Regions from separate parts of the Homo sapiens genome. Here region 2 is linked to region 1. The links are contacts of gene promoters, found by promoter capture Hi-C in blood cells and fetal thymus (Javierre and others, 2016). All regions are on one chromosome and are shown on one strand. The core of a region is centred on a gene start or on the middle of the fragment in contact, and the rest is flanking DNA. Distances in the headings are between cores, read along the strand shown. Region 1 holds the start of TMPRSS11D (transmembrane serine protease 11D). Region 2 has its middle 35 kb from the start of TMPRSS11F.

What was found. Contacts are between HindIII fragments. The CHiCAGO score rates a contact against its expected background, and 5 or more counts as called.
Region 2: a contact is called between a fragment that was not itself captured here and the fragment with the promoter of TMPRSS11D in region 1, in 3 of 17 cell types (monocytes, megakaryocytes and endothelial precursors). The highest score is 5.6, in monocytes.

What each region holds. Positions count from the first base shown.
Region 1 is chr4:67,882,635-67,885,426 of GRCh38, reverse strand. It overlaps TMPRSS11D (transmembrane serine protease 11D), which reads left to right and starts at 1,425. Exons shown (of 10, transcript NM_004262.3): 1 at 1,425-1,501. The coding sequence starts at 1,494. The HindIII fragment of the contact is 7,558 bases long and covers 1-1,576 here.
Region 2 is chr4:68,163,848-68,166,639 of GRCh38, reverse strand. No RefSeq gene overlaps it. Among named protein-coding and RNA genes, the nearest start is that of TMPRSS11F, 35 kb to the right of the region's middle. The HindIII fragment of the contact is 1,217 bases long and covers 718-1,934 here.

The DNA of each region.
Region 1 (2,792 bases), core at 176-2,675:
ATTAATGAATCTTGGTACCATATTTGTGTTTTAAATTATATAAAAATACAAAGTTATAAATATATAGCTACTAAAAATAAAAATTAGTAATAGCGATATATTTGTGAAATAATATTAAGTATAAAAAGCATAATACAAAATTATATACCATGATATAACTATATTTAAAGGTACTTGAAGTTAACATGTAAAATTTAAAAATGGTTTGTTTAGGTAACTTTATTTTTTAAACTTTTAAATCTTATTATAGTTATTTATTTATTGCTAAAAAATCAATGGCAGAATGTCAGGCATGAGATACTGTATGTAAAAAATATATTTCCCAAATATATTTGGGAAAAAACATATAAGTAACCACTTATTCCTGTCTCTGTTGTTTGATTTGCACATTATATAGAAAAAGTCAAGTAACTGAACACATCTGAAGTTGCAGTATTGGAGTAAATTTAACCATTAGTTGTCAGTGCTTTACAAGATGAAGTCATAGAATTTTATAATTGAGAGTCCTCTAAGACCTCCTGATTCAGCTTCCACTTTTCTTAGTAGATACATGTGACTTATGGAGAAATAAGTAAATTTTTTCCCTTAAGCTACACAATTAGTTGGTGAAAAAGCTAAGACTAGAATTCATATTGTACTACTAATAATATTGTAATAATTCTATTACAAGTTCCAATTCTTTAGCATTCATTAGTTCTCACAAAGTAACCCCAGTATAACCTTCCAAATTTATATCCTGCTTCTTTGCAATGTTAGACAGGAATGCCCTTTTTCCCCTCCCTGCTAGTCTTGCCTGTTTTCTTGAGCTCTCCATCCTTACCCTAACACCCTACACACTCATACTGTCTTCTTCTGTCTGCTCCTCTTCTAGTAGTAGTGTGTTAGAATAGCTTTTTCAAATGATCATATTTGGAAAAAAACAAAGTGGATTTTAGTTCCAACTATTCTGTTTGCTTGTCTTACTTTGTGCATCTACTCAATTATGCTCTGTTTCATATATTATGAGAAAAACTGCATTTAATCATACAGATGAGGGAATTCAGAGGTAGTGCCCATTAATGTACGGAAAGTATGTTCTGATGGATCTTGGCTGGCTGTGTTGAGGAATGAGGTGTATAACAATATGATAACATGAGCAAAATAAGTGTCAAATCCTCTTGAACTAAAAGTGACTCTACAGTTGTGAAGTAGTCACAGGCTTTCACAAAATACCTGTCAATTGTAATTGTGTTTAATCTCAATTTACCAGAATAAATAAATTTCTTACTAATTTGTGAAATTCCCTGTCTATTTCCAATTATCTTCCACAAGTCATACTATTGGTTTGTTGATTCCCTCAAACTTGTTTAACAAGTTAGATTTTAATTAACATGAGATTTCCTCCTTTGTCCTCAACTATAGATCACACGTAATACATGAGAGTCATTCATTTGAGTGGGAATCTCAAAGCAGTTGAGTAGGCAGAAAAAAGAACCTCTTCATTAAGGATTAAAATGTATAGGTAAGTCCTGTTTTTGTCTTTGTAGCTTTAAAAGTTTTACTATATCTTACAGTATGGGAAAAATATAAAGAAGCTTAGCAAATTTTGACTGTGTCTAGCAATCTTCTAGTTACTTCTCTGAAAACTTCATCGAAACTCTTAGATATTGTTTAGATAATATGCTTGATATTATTTTCATAAGGTACATAGTTGCTTAACTGAATTTTTTATAAAACAACCACAAAAATACTTAGCTTAGCGTTATGACAACATATCTTTAAATAAGGAAGTGGTTTTGTTTCTCATGTGCAACATTTCGAAAAGTGGTGTGTGGATTTTAAAATTGCAATCAGTAAACAATTCTTGTGTTGTTTGGAACTTTTCGAGGATTCTGTGTTTTGACTTCCATTACAGTTTTATTGCTAGCTATTAAATAAATATGCCATAAATCCTAAAGTACACTTTTAGAAAGTAAAGACGGTATTTTTCTACTTTTTATATAGTTGTAGAATTATTTTCAAGAAAGTTCTTGCTAACATTTAAGAGAAAATAATCTCTCTCTGGTTTTCTTTTTAGTTAATGAATAAGTATTTTCCTATACTTTCACATAAAGAAAGAAAAAAGTTGTGAGATAATCAAGTCACACGTTAACATCTCAAAACAATGAAATAATTATGTAACTTGGTATGTTTATGTGTGCACTTAAGTGTATATATTATGCATATTATTTTTCTATGACTACAGGAAAACATGATACTGATAAGTCATGCTGAAAGGATCAACAAAAGCATGAACAATGTGTTAGCTATAATAAGTGCAGCTGAATTTATTTTAAATCTCCTGAACATTGGAAAATTCAATCAAAAGTCAAACCATTTTAAGTAATAAAAATATATATACAGTTATATGCACTTGAATATATATATATGAGTGAAAAGTGGATAGCTGTCTAAGCTTCCAATGATAGAAGAAATAAAATCATTTCATATTCATGTAATAGATACAAGAAATGTATTAAAGTAGCTTAAAAACCTATGAAGTAATTTACATACTGAGTTTGTTCTTATTTTATGTGAAAAAAACAAATCACAAAATTGTATTTACTCATCAACTACTACTTTGTAAAGCTATACATGGGAGAAAGTCTAATAAAGAACATAGAACATTAATCAGGTTTGTTATACTAAAGCAGTGAGTTTATGAATTATATTTTTTATTGTTCTTAAACCATCTATAAGTGTAATATTATTTGGGTAATATAGTGCATTTTAAAATGTATTTTGCTGAAATATTTTAATTTTAAAGAAATTAC
Region 2 (2,792 bases), core at 77-2,576, 280 kb before region 1:
CACTGTGAGGTAATGAAAACTACTTGGAAGTAATAAAAACTGGGTTTCAATCTCAATCCTGTTACTCATGTTGTGATCCTGTGACCTGAGAAGTTTATTCAAGCTCCCTGATCTCAGTTTGCTCTCCAGTTTAATGGGAATAAAGTGCGTACTTCACAGCATTTGTAAAAATTAAGGAAATGTATTAAAAAGTGTCCAGTGCAATAATTGGAAATCAGCAAATTTAAATCAGAAACTACTCTTAAATCCTACTTCTTCACTCATTTTTCTCAGATATTTAATTTCACATGCAAATATGTATGCAGATCTCTTCCATCAGCTATGTAACACCAGTTAGGTATAAAGTGATTTTGTATGAAGTAGTTGAAAATTGAACTGAGGTGTTAAATACATTCTATGAAGAATAATTCTTGAGAATCAGTAACTGGGTACTAACTGTAGCTCACTAATAATACGTAGCATTTATTAAGCAGTTTCCTATGTGGTGGTGAGGTAAGTATAACATTGATGATCTTATTTATCTATTTATTATTATATTAAAGGGACAGGTTCTTTTTATGTTGCCCAGGCAAGACTTCAACTCCTGGGCTCAAGAATCGTATCATCTCAGCCTCCCAAGAAGCTGGGACTATAGGCATACATCTCTGCAACTGACTGGGGGCTAAATAATAATTTTCAGGTAGTAGTGAAAAATGAAAATGCAATGCTCCTTAAGCTTTTAATTTTAAAAAGCTATTATATTATAAAACATAATAGGGATGAAAATGGTATGTGGGTAACAATATAAACTAATAAATTACAAAAATACAATTTTTGGTGTTCTAATTTTAGGTCATAAAAGAAATAATACTTTATAATGTGTAATCTTGATTTCTCATAAATTTTTTTCCTGCTTTTCTGGAAACTCATTTGTTAGTTTATCAAAATTTATACTTTTTAAACTTCAGTTGATATAATTGAAATTAATGCCAGTTGCTCTTGGTAAGATCAGTTTGTTTTTTACTTTTTATAAAGATGAACTATTCATTTTAAAACAGTTTTAGATTTACAAAAAAGTTAAGATGGTAGGGAAAGTTTCTATATATTTCACAGTTTCCCCTGTTGCTGCTATCTAAAGTGTGGTACATTTGTTACAATTAATGAAGTGATATTGGTACATTATTATTATGAAAGCCCATACTTAATTCCTATTTCCTTAGTTTTTATCCAATGGCCCCTTTCTGTGCCAGGATCCCATTTTGGATACTACATTACATTTAGCCATCATGTCTCCTTAGGATCCTTTTAGCTGTAATAGTTTCTCAGATTTTCTTTGCTTTTGATGATCTTAACGGTTTTGAGAAGTACTTGTCAAGTATTTTATAGAACGCTCCTCAATTAGGATTTCTCTGATGTTAGTCCCATAATTAGATTTGGAGTTACGGGTTTTTGGGAGAAGATCACAGAGGTAAAGTGCCATTTTAATCATATTGTGTCGGTGGTTTATACTGTCAGTATAACTTATCTCTGTTGATATTACTTTGATCATCTAGCTTAGGTAGTGTTTTTCAGGATTCTCCACCGTAAAGTTACATTTCCCCACTTTCCATTTGTACTGTTTGGAAGGAAATCACTGTTTAGAGATGACACGTAAGGAGTGGGGAGTTATGACCCACCTCATTGAGGGTGGAATATCTACATACATTATTTGGAATTTTTCTGCATGGGATATTTGTCTCTTCTCTCTCATTTATTTATTTAATCATATACTTATACCACTGTGGACTCTTGGATACTTATTTTATACTTTAGATTAAAATCCAATACTAGTTTACTAATTTTATTGTTCAAATTGTTCCAGATTTGACCATGGTAACAATCTGTGTCTCTATTAAGCTGAGTTTGTACTGATGAGTATGATGATTTCAAGTCTAATACATTGATTACAGAAAGCTTGATTACTTTTTCAAAATGTATTTTATTTTGTTGTTGTTGTGTGTGTTCCAATTCCATTATTTTATTTTACTGTTTAACTTTTAGTTTCAGGGATACACGTGCAAGTTTCTTTCCTTTTTTTTTTTTTTTTTTTGAGATGAAGTCTCGCTCTGTCACCCAGGCTGGAGTGCAATGGCATGATCTCGGCTCACTGCAACCTCTGCCTTCCAGATTTAAGCTATTCCCCCTGCCTCAGCCTCCTGAGTAGCTGGGACTACAGGTGCACACCACCATGCCCGGCTAATTTTTGTGTTTTTAGTAGAGACAGGGTTTCACCATGTTGGCCAGGATGGTCTTGATCTCCTGACCTTGTGATCCATCCGCCTTGGCCTTCCAAAGTGCTGGGATTACAGGTATGAGCCACTGCACTGGGCAGCAAGTTTCTTATATAAGTAAAGTGCATGTCGTGGGGGTTTGGTGTACAGATTATTTCCTAACCTAGATGATAAGCATACTACCTGATAGGTAGTTTTTTTGATCCTCCCCTTCCTCCCACCCTGCACCCTCAAGTAGGCCCCAGTGTCTGTTGTTCCTTTCTTTGTGTCCATGTGTACTCAATATTTAGCTCCCATTTACAAGTGAGAACATATGGTATTTGGTTTTCTGTACCTGCGTTAGTTTGCTTAGGATAATGGCCTCCAGCTGCATCCATGTTGCTGCAAAAGACATGATCTAGTTCTTTTTTACAGCTGTATAGTATTCCATGGTGTATATGTACCACATTTTCTGTATCCAGTCTACCATTGATGGGCATCTACACTGAATTCATGTCTTTGCTATTGTGAATAGTGCTGTGATGAACATGCAAGTAAATGTTT